2 separate regions of the Homo sapiens genome follow, and region 2 is linked to region 1. Evidence: promoter capture Hi-C in human tissues and cell types (Jung and others, 2019). All regions are on one chromosome and are shown on one strand. Each heading gives the region's core, a stretch centred on a gene start or on the middle of the fragment in contact. The rest is flanking DNA. Distances are from core to core; before and after follow the strand shown.

Region 1 (5,068 bases), core at 2,452-4,951:
CCTCCCAAAGTGCTGGGATTACAGGCATGAGTCACTGCGCCCAGCCGACATCACCATCTTTAAAAACAACATAGACTGACAGAGACCTTAAGGACCTCCAAGGAAGAGGAACAGAAAAGGCAAGAAAGTCTGAAAGGAAGAAAAGGTTGTTTGGAGATGGGAGACCTCCCCCTATTTTTTTCTCTTAACATGCCAAAAGAAAAAAAAATGGGACTTTTTTCCTTTGTTTTGCATTGTAAATATTAAAAACATTGGATCAAAGAGTTAAGGAAGATTTTAAGTTATATAACTGAGCAAAGAATAGTCAACTCAGCACTGGACCAGAATTTAGTAAAGAAAAATTCTGGTTTAACTTTGACCCTAACTCTTAGATAAGTCACTTCCCAGCTCTGGACTCAGTTTCTCCATCGATATAAAAGCAGTTTGGGCTACCTCCAGGATGTGTAAACTGTCCTAATGAGGCCCTCTCAGGGACAGGAACATCCAGGGACAGTGCCCTATGCCTCTTTCTCTGATTTCAACAATAGCAACTCTGCTTTTAGCTGCTTTGCACTGGCGCTTTTCTCCATGACATTTTCTTTGAACAGGTTACATGTTAAAAAGCAGACAAACAAAACAAAAATGCCCCAGCCCCTAGATGACTTCTACTGAGCAGAGGCAATAATATAAAAGCCGGATTGTTTGACTATAAAAAAAAAAAAACAAAAAACACTCAAGAGGTCAGGCACAGTGGCCCATGCCTATAATCCAAACACTTTGAGAGGCCAAGGTGGGAGGATTGCTTGAACCAAGGAGTTCAAGACCAGCCTCGGCAACATAGTAAGACCCTGTCTCTACAAAAAATATAAAAATTAGCCAGGCATGGTGGCATACGCTTGTAGTCCCAGCTACTCAGGAGGCTGAGGGGGGAGGATCGCTTGATCCCCAGAGGTTGAGGTGGCAATGAGCTATGATGGTGCCACTGCACTCCAGCCTGAGCAACAGAGTGAGACCTTGACTCAAACAAAAACAATCTACTCAAGAAAAAGAGTAATTAAAACCCACTAAAGTCCCATCTCACGGCCATTTCTGTAGACACAGAGGTATTCATGCTATTAAAAACTTCTTGGCTGCCGGGCGCAGTGGCTCACACCTGTAATCCCAGCACTCTGGGAGGCCGAGGTGGGCAGATCACGAGGTCAGGAGATCGAGACCATCCTGGCTAACATGGTGAAACCCCGTCTCTACTAAAAATACAAAAAATTAGCTAGGTGTGGTGGTGGGCACCTGTAATCCCAGCTACTCGGGAGGCTGAGACAGGAGAACGGTGTGAACCCAGGAGGCGGAGCTTGCAGTAAGCCGAGATCACGCCACTGCACTCCAGCCTGGGTGACACAGCGAGACTCCGTCTTGAAAAAAAAAAATAAAAACTTCTTGGGTCCAGAAATGTCAGTGCTGAGATCACTACTCCTGCTCTTAGACAAATCATAAGATGGTAGAGTCAGGACTTGATGCTGGAAAGTTCAAAGAACATTAGAACTGAAAGTGACCTTGGGCAACAGAGCTCTCATTGTCTAGATGAAGATCCCAAGGCCCAGACTGACCTGACTAAAGTTGCACAGTGTCTCTAGCAGAGCTGGCCAGATCCCTTTCCTAAAGGCTGCAGCCACCTAGATTCCAGCTCAATGGAATTAGAGACAGGGTCTCGCTATGTGGCCCAGGCTGGTCTCGAATTCCTGAGCTCAAGCAATCTGCCTTCCTCAGCCTCCCAAAGTGATGGGATTACAGGAATCAGCCACTGCACCTGGTCAGTACAGCTTTGTTTCTATGGCTTCAGTATCTCTAGATATTTCTACAACTTCGGCATTCCAAGAGGAAAAACAGACTGCTCCTTCAAATTAAGAGTGGGAATTTCCCTCTAGAAAACAATGTTGCAGAAGAAAGGCTGGAGTCCTGTGGCTTAGGAGCAAAAACTGAAAAAACCCCTTACTGTATTTATTATACTAGCTATGTGACCTTGCCTAAGTCACTTATTTTCTCTTAGCCTTTAAAATGAAATCGGCAGCATCATGGCATTGGGTTGTTGTAAAAATTAAATGAGATGGTGCATGTACAGCATTTAGCTTAGTACCTGGTAGAGTAAGCACTCAAAAAATGTTAGCAATGTTATTTTTGTAAAGTATTTTTATGATTCAGTGATTAGGTTTCCATAAAACCAGTCCCGAAGGAACAGCAAGGGCCGAGGGTGGTGGCTCACACCTGTAATCCCAGCACTTTCGGAGGCCAAGGTGGGCAGATTGCTTGAGCTCAGGAGTTCGAGACCAGCCTGGGTAACATGGCCAAACCCCATCTCTACAAAAAAATTAGCCCAGCATGGTGGTTCACGCCTGTGGGTCCCAGCTACTCGGGAGGCTGAGGTGGGAGAATCACTTAAGCCTGGGAGGCAGAGGTTGCAGTGAGCCGGGATCATGCCACTGCACTCCAGCCTGGGTGATACAGAGACCCTGTCTCAAAAAAAAAAAAAAAAAAAACCAGGAAAAAAAAAAAAAAACAGTAAGAGAAAACCTCCAGCCTGGGTGACAGAGCAAGACCCTGTCTCTAACATAGATAAATAAATAAATAAACATTTAAAAAACCTATCACAAATGATACAAAATCAGTTGAGTAGCATTGATGAAGGGAAAGGAAAGATGGGGTGAGCTATCTCTAAACCAAAGAATCATAGTGCAGGCCAGGCCTTATGCTGGGGGCTGGGGTCGTAATGAAGAATATGGCAGTCCCAACAGAAGAGGGAGCACGCATTTACCGACTCATGTGTGCCAAGTGCTGGGCTCAGAGCTCTATCTGAGAATCTCATTTGATCCCCATAACAACTCCATGTGGAAAGAACTGTTGTTTTCAAGCCCCGTTTTCAAATGGGGAAAAGGGTTCACGGAGGCTAAGTAAGCAGCCCATGTTCACACAGCTAGTAGTGGTGGAACTGAGATTTGAACTCAAAGGCCCGGCTTTTAACCACTTCATATTTCATATACAGGGAATGGCGGGTGAGAGAGACCACAGCAACTTCCAGGAACTGTCATTCCTGAAAGTAACTCTGTGTCGCTGAAGAATGTCAGAGAAGAATTATGACGGGCTGGAAGGGGCCCAGTCATTAAAATCTTGAAGGCTATGTTAAAGGGTTTCGACTCTACCCGCGGGCAGGAGGGAGCCACAGAAGGTGCCAGGCAGGGGGGATGGTCTGATCAAGTCTGACTTTTAGAAAGATTATTCTGGCACCAGAACGGGGAGGAAACAGGTCGGGTTAGGAGGCAGCTGCTGTAATGCAGAAAGGTCACGAGGGTGGCGGACACGGTGAGGAAGAGGGATCCGAAGGATTCCGAAAACGGAACTGGCGGGCGGGAAGAGGCCGGACCAGGGTACCCAGCCGCGGAGGCCGTGTGGCCCTGGCTCCCCGCGGCCCCGCCCCGCCCCTCCCGGCGCCCGAATCCCGGGTCCCGGGAGCTGCCGCCTCACCTTGGCCATGCGGATCATGCGCTTGGCTACGTCCAGGTCGCCCTGGTGGTTCTGGCCGATCTCGGCAATGATGAAGCACGGGTGTTGCCCGCCCACCCAGCGCCCGGGACACAGCTCCAGCTCCAGCGGCATTGCAGCGGCTCGGGGTCCAAAGCCTCACTACCAGTCTGGGTCCGGCCGCCGCCGCCGCCGCCTCTACTCTGTTCTGTGAGCAACGCTGCGAGACCCACACGCCAGCCCCGCCACGTCAGCCCGCGGTCGCCGGGCAGCCAATCCCCTAGGCCCCGCCTCTCTCCCGACAGCCAATCGGGGCGGGGGGCGGGGGCGGGGCCTCCCGCGGGAAGGGCGGCGGGGCGGGTCGAGGAAGCTCCGCGGCCCTCTCCTGTGCGAGGCTTGAGGCTTGCTGTCCCAGAGCGTGGTCTCGGACCATCGCGGTATCCGTGCGTGCACCCAGGAGCAAGCATTCCCTGCAGGAGGCGGACGGCTGCCTGCGCAGGGCATAGTCTATGTCCTGCTCTCAGGAGCATGGGGAGAGCGCGCCCTATGGTGTAATGGAAAAAACAGGGTTGCTAGAGTTAGAATCACAGAGCTGGATCGAGTCCAGCCTATGCCAGTCACCAGCTCCTGCTCATATATACGTTACTCAGTCTTCCGGAGCGTTATTTTTGTTTCTCTCTGAAGCAAAAAAATAAAATAGAACTGTGAGATGACGTATAGAAACCCCTGATCACAATACTTGGCTTGTAGTAAGTTTTCAAGAAGTGGCGGAGGTTCCTATTATATGAGAGGCAACAGGTTCGAGAAGTTGCACTGGCTTGTCCAAAGCCATCCAGAAAGCCAAAGCAGAGATGGGACTAGTACCCGGACCTCCCAGCCCCAGGCTCTTAAAATACAATCACCTGGGCGGGCGCGGTGGCTCACACCTGTAATCCCAGCACTTTGGGAGGCCAAGGCAGGCAGATCACCTGAGGTCAGGAGTTCGAGACCAGCCTGACCAATATGGAGAAACCCCGTCTCTACTAAAAATACAAAAAAATTAGCCGGGCGTGGTGGTGCGTGCCTGTAATCCCAGCTACTCGAGAGGCTGAGGCAGGAGAATCGCTTGAACCCGGGAGGTGGAGGTTGCAGTGAGCCCAGATCACACCACTGCACTCCAGCCTGGTGACACTGCAAGACTCTGTCTCAAAAATAAATAAATTAATTAATTAATTTAAAAAATAAGATAAGTTATTTCCCAAAATAAACCTCCTTCTTTCCTGGGAACTAGACTGCCTTTGTAGGACTAACAAATTAGCCACAAGATTAGACACGTAGGAGTCATGCACCTGGAGGCTACAAGATTCTGACCCTCCCCAAATTGCTCCTGGGGATAACATCACTATTGTAAAACCTAAGACCAGTGCTTGAGATATTTTGCAGACCCTGCACTTGATGGATCAGCTGGCACCACCAGATTGATAAACTGGTTCATCTGATCTTGTGTCCCCCAACCAGGAACTGACTTGGCACAAGAAGACAGCCTTGACTTTCTATGATTTTATCTCCAACACAACCAATCAGCACTCCTGGCATACTG
Region 2 (4,891 bases), core at 2,174-4,673, 330 kb after region 1:
CGGCTCACTGCAACCTCCACCTCCTGGGTTCAAGTGATTCTCCTGCCTCAGCCTCCCGAGTAGCTGGGATTACAGGCATGCGCCACCACACCCGGTTAATTTTGTATTTTTGGTAGAGATGGGGTTTCTCCATGTTGGTCAGGCTGGTCTCGAACTCCCGACCTCAGGTGATCCACCCACCTCGGCCTCCCAAAGTGCTGTGATTACAGGCTTGAGGCACTGCGCCCGGCTGAGCTTGACATTTTATGAAGCCCTTTTGATATATCGTTTATCCTCACCATAACATGATAGGTAGGGACAGCCTTCCCATTTTATGGATGAGGATGATCAGTCCCAAAGAGATTGTGTGTCTTGCACAAGATCCCTCAGCTCGTCTGTGGCAGGACCAGCCATCAAACTGGGACTCAAGACCATTGCTCCCTGGCTACATGTGAGGTCTGCATGGCTTCAGCTTCTGTGTGTCTGGCTCCTTCACATGTTTGCTCATGTTCAAGATGCAGGATGTGGGGAAATTGCCTTTAAATACAATAAAAGAGAAACAAGCCGATGAGCTCACAAGGTTTTTTGTTAGGGATGGTACCTGTTTATCTAACTTAAATCACTAATACTGCCGTTGCAGCCAGGAGATGGGCCACCCTGTATCTGAGACATAGGTGTCTCTCTGTGGAGTTCATAAGGTCATAATTTAATTCACCTTGATCCCTGATGCTGGACAAATTCAAGAGGACAGGGGTGATTATAGGGAAGGGGACATTAATGTCAACCTGGGGACACCCATGAGGGCTTTGGATTTCTGAGGGCAGATGGGGTGTGTAGGATTTTGTGGTACATGAAAGATTTCCTATGGGTGGTCCTCCATAGATAAGGCATTAGCTCATGTAGTGAGACAGTAGGGCACAGAAAAGGGCACATGGGATTTGGAGTCAGATACACCAGGGCTGGAATCCTGACTCTGCCACCTGAGTGACCCTGATAGGTCACTCAACCTCTCTGGGCCGTCTCCAGAGAGGCCTGTCCTATGTGTCTCTTGTTCTCATTTCTCGTGTTCTGAACGTCCAGCCTGGAAGGAATTAGTCCTTCTTTGAGCTGATATTGTCAGTGCATATCCATTTAGATTCCTTTACCATTGGGGGCCTACCTGTGGCCAGCATCTGCATCTCTTTGTCAGAGGATAGAGTCCAGGGCTGCTGGCGACTGTTCTGTCCGCACACAGGAGAGCTGGAAGTACCTGGGAGATTACCCACCCCCACCCACTCTTTTTCTAGTAATTGATGGGTGCTGAGGCATAAGTACTCTAGCCCCCAGCCCCTGACCAGGACGACTCACGGGTGTGACCCTCACCAGAGCTCCCTGGTGGGATTAAGCCAAAGTTCTCCTCCGAGTGCCTTGTGTGATACGGTGCCCCACTGCCTTACCATTTTTTCTGGGAGCACTTCCTAATACATCACTTTCACATGAATCTTCCTCCAGGGTTTCTTCTGGGGACCCCAATTAAGATGCAGCCATGGAGAGGTAGTTGCCCAGGCTGCAACACAGAACCCAAATGGGCTTACTCAGACTGCCAAAGGGCTTCACCATCCAAATGCGTAGGTCCTCCAAATTGGCTGCTTTTTTAAAAAAGAAACTGTTAAAACGTTTCAATAAAGCAGCCATTTTTAAAAAAGCTCTTTTATAAAACCATTTACTTTTGTAGCATTTTAAAGGAGTTTTCATATACATGGTTTCATTTGAGTCTCATTACATTGCTAATATAGCAAGAAGTTATTATCCTCTTTTTCAGGTGAGGAAGTTAAGACCCAAATTGATGAAGTGATTAGACAAAGTAACCCAAGAGGTACACCATAGAATAAGATATAGAAACCCACATTTTCCAACCCTGGTTCAGCCATAGGACTGATAGTTTTTGATAGTGTGACTGATGATCGTGAAGAGGTGTTTTCAGGCATCTTTATTGGTGTTTTGGACATATTTATTTATCCTGTTGTAATGTCTCAGAGCTCGTCCACTCCATTATTCTTAAAAAGGAAAAACCTTTTATGTAATTTTTCTCATTATAAAACTAATACATTCTCATTACATAAAATTTTGAATATACAGAAAAAAAGAACAATATGAAAAAAACTTTTCATAATTCCAAGAGTTTCTTTTAGTCTTTTATTATGGTCCTTTCTTTTTTCTGTGCAGTTATTTCTTTCTGTGTTATATGCTCAAAATAATTTGCACTTAATTATACCTATAATTGCCAATGCACAACCATCTTTGTTGATCTGTGAGGGCCCCTTTTTTTGTTCTAATCACACACTTTTCCTTTACAAAATAAGCATTAAATACCTTGTGCTGGAAAGTAAGGCAGTGCTCAAAAAAGTGATGGGGACCTGTCAAAAGGACAAGGAAATCAACTTGAAGAGGCTTCCACTGGCCAAATCTAGGACAATTTGAGCATCAACATAATTAAGAAAATAAAGAAAATAAACCATTGAAAAATAGGAATCTATGAGTCTGTGCAAGAATAAATAGATCAATAATAAGTAGATAAGAAACAGGAGAGAGGAGAGGGCTCCTGCTTACAGTAAAATGCCAACCATTAAATGTGAAGATGGTGCTAAAGTTGGAAGATCATCATTTTCCAACTATCATGGAAAACATTGATTTGAATAAGAATCTTCAAAGGGTGTGACACCTTAGGGGGACATTTTTTATTTATAGAAAAGTTACAGAGGTAATGCAGAAAATTCCCATATATCATCACAAAGTATTCCCTAATGTTAACCTGTTTTTGTTTTTGTTTTTGAGACAGGATCTCTCTCTGCCACCCAGGCTGGAGTGCAGTGGCACAATCATGGCTCACTGCAGCCTCAAACTCCTGCGCTCAAGTGATCCTCCCACATCAGCCTCCCAAGTAGCTGGGACTCCAGGTACGCACCACCATGCCTGGATAATTTTTTAAATTTTTTGTAGAGACGGGTCTCACTATATTCACTAGGCTGGTCTCAAACTCCTGGCTTCAAACTATCCTCCCACCTCAGCCTCTCAAACTGTTGGGATCACAGGCATGAGCCGCCACACCCAGCCCAGAATCCTTCTTGCCCCAACTCCTCCATGAAGCTTTCTTGATTATTTCCCTCCTATCAGAATTTTTCTGTTTCTGTTTTACATTACCTTGACTACGTTACATGCACCTCTACTTAGCACCTGCCTCATTGCACCTTGTTTTTGAATTAAGAGGTGATATGTCTGTCTTCCCCTCTTACAGAAGGGAAGAATGAAATCTAATCCCTCCACCTGGCAGAGTGCAGAGTGTACCTACTCTATGGGTAGGTTCTCAATGACTACTGCTGAAGGAATTCAAACTGAAATGGAAGAAGTTTTCTCATGGATCAAAAGTCTTAGCTGAAGACTTCATGTTTTCCATTAACTGCAGTCACTCACATCTATTTAAGCTTCTGCTATCAAAAATGGAAAAGCAGCCAGTGACTTCTGCTTTAACCGAGGCTGTCTTGTATTTTTTGTAAACTTTTTTCTATTTTTAAATTTTTATCTAGAGAAAGGGTCTTGCTCTGTCATCCAGGCTGGAGTGCAGTGGCACGATTGTAGCTCATTAACTTCAAACTCATGGGCTCTAACAATCCTCCTGCCCTAGCCTCTCAAGTAGCTCAGACTACAAGTGCAAGCCCAGCTAATTTTTAAGATTTTTTGTAGAGATGGGGTCTCGTTATGTTGCTATGTAGCTGGTCTCAAACTCCTGGCCTCAAGCAGTCCTCCTGCTGCCACCTCTCAAAATGTTGGGATTACAGGCAGGGCGCAGTGGCTCATGCCTGTAATCCCAGCACTTTGGGAGGCGGAGGCAGGTAGATCATTTGAGGTCAGGAGTTCAAGACCAGCCTGGCCAACATGGTGAAACCCAGTCTCTACTAAAAATACAAAAATTAGCCAGGTGTGGTGATGCGTGCCTGTAATCCCAGCTACTCGGGAGGCTGAGGCAGGAGAATTGCTTCAGCCCAGGAGGCGGACACTGCAGTGAACCAAGATGGCACCACTGAATCCCAGCCTGTGCAACAGAGTGAGACTCTGTCTCAAAAAAAAAAAAAAAGTGTTGGGACTACAGGCATGAGCACCTGCACCTGGCCAGTCCTTTTAAATACTGTACTAAAGGGAAGATGCTGATTTGGGTTGCAATACGCTTTCACACTCTGCCATCTGTGTGGGGATGCACTGTGGAGTGATGCAAAGAACTGGCCTCCACATTTGGAGAGCACGTCTGAGGGGCCAGGAGACCTCTCCATGCCTCTCATTTCATTCTAGACCATTTAATCTGCTGCAAGTGAAAACTGATTGACTCCTTTACATTCTAACTAGGTTTTATTATTTTTTGTGAATTTTTTTGTGTCTCTAGGTATGAGAGAACAGAAATAGAGATTTGGGTGGCTTTAGCTGTTTAAAATAAGGTGACCAAACCTCCTTTCTGCCTGTTCCTGCTATTTCAAACACCACTGTTCTCCACACAATGAAAATGGCCTTGTTCCTTAAGGTAGTGTACTCTTTCATTTTATTTTTAATGATAGGAAAGAAGAAAGAAGACATTTTATTTTGGATTGTGGTATTCATTGATTGGAAACCTCCCAGGTTGTTTTCTAGTTCCATACAACTTGGAAAGAAAAAAGTACAAGTCAGGGAGACAAATATTTGAGAGTGATGTGTACATTTCAAGAATGTTTACCCAATTCAGGGAAGAACCATTTGCCACTAAAAGGTCCCCCCGCCTGTCCTCATCACCATGTCACCCTGCAGAAGGTCAAGTGGCCTTATGCATGAGGCTAATTCCCTGCATTCCTGATCAAGGGGCAGGGAGGGCCAGGCAAAGTCACTGCTGTCTTCAGCAGACAGTGGCCAT

Evidence for each region. Contacts are between HindIII fragments. The study calls those that stand out against the background at their distance.
Region 2: a contact is called between a fragment that was not itself captured here and the fragment with the promoter of NANS in region 1, in 1 of the 25 tissues and cell types used here (pancreas).

The regions. Positions count from the first base shown.
Region 1 is chr9:98,055,365-98,060,432 of GRCh38, reverse strand. NANS (N-acetylneuraminate synthase) reads right to left here and starts at 3,701. Exons shown (of 6, transcript NM_018946.4): 1 at 3,493-3,701. The coding sequence starts at 3,624. It also overlaps a transcript of TRIM14 not described here. RefSeq lists enhancers at 2,983-3,102, 4,143-4,192 and silencers at 3,353-3,522, 3,603-3,952. The HindIII fragment of the contact is 24,529 bases long and covers 1-5,068 here.
Region 2 is chr9:97,722,437-97,727,327 of GRCh38, reverse strand. PTCSC2 (papillary thyroid carcinoma susceptibility candidate 2) reads left to right here. Exons shown (of 11, transcript NR_147055.1): 6 at 2,798-2,915; 7 at 4,394-4,528. Among named protein-coding and RNA genes, the nearest start is that of XPA, 28 kb to the right of the region's middle. The HindIII fragment of the contact is 4,075 bases long and covers 1,386-4,891 here.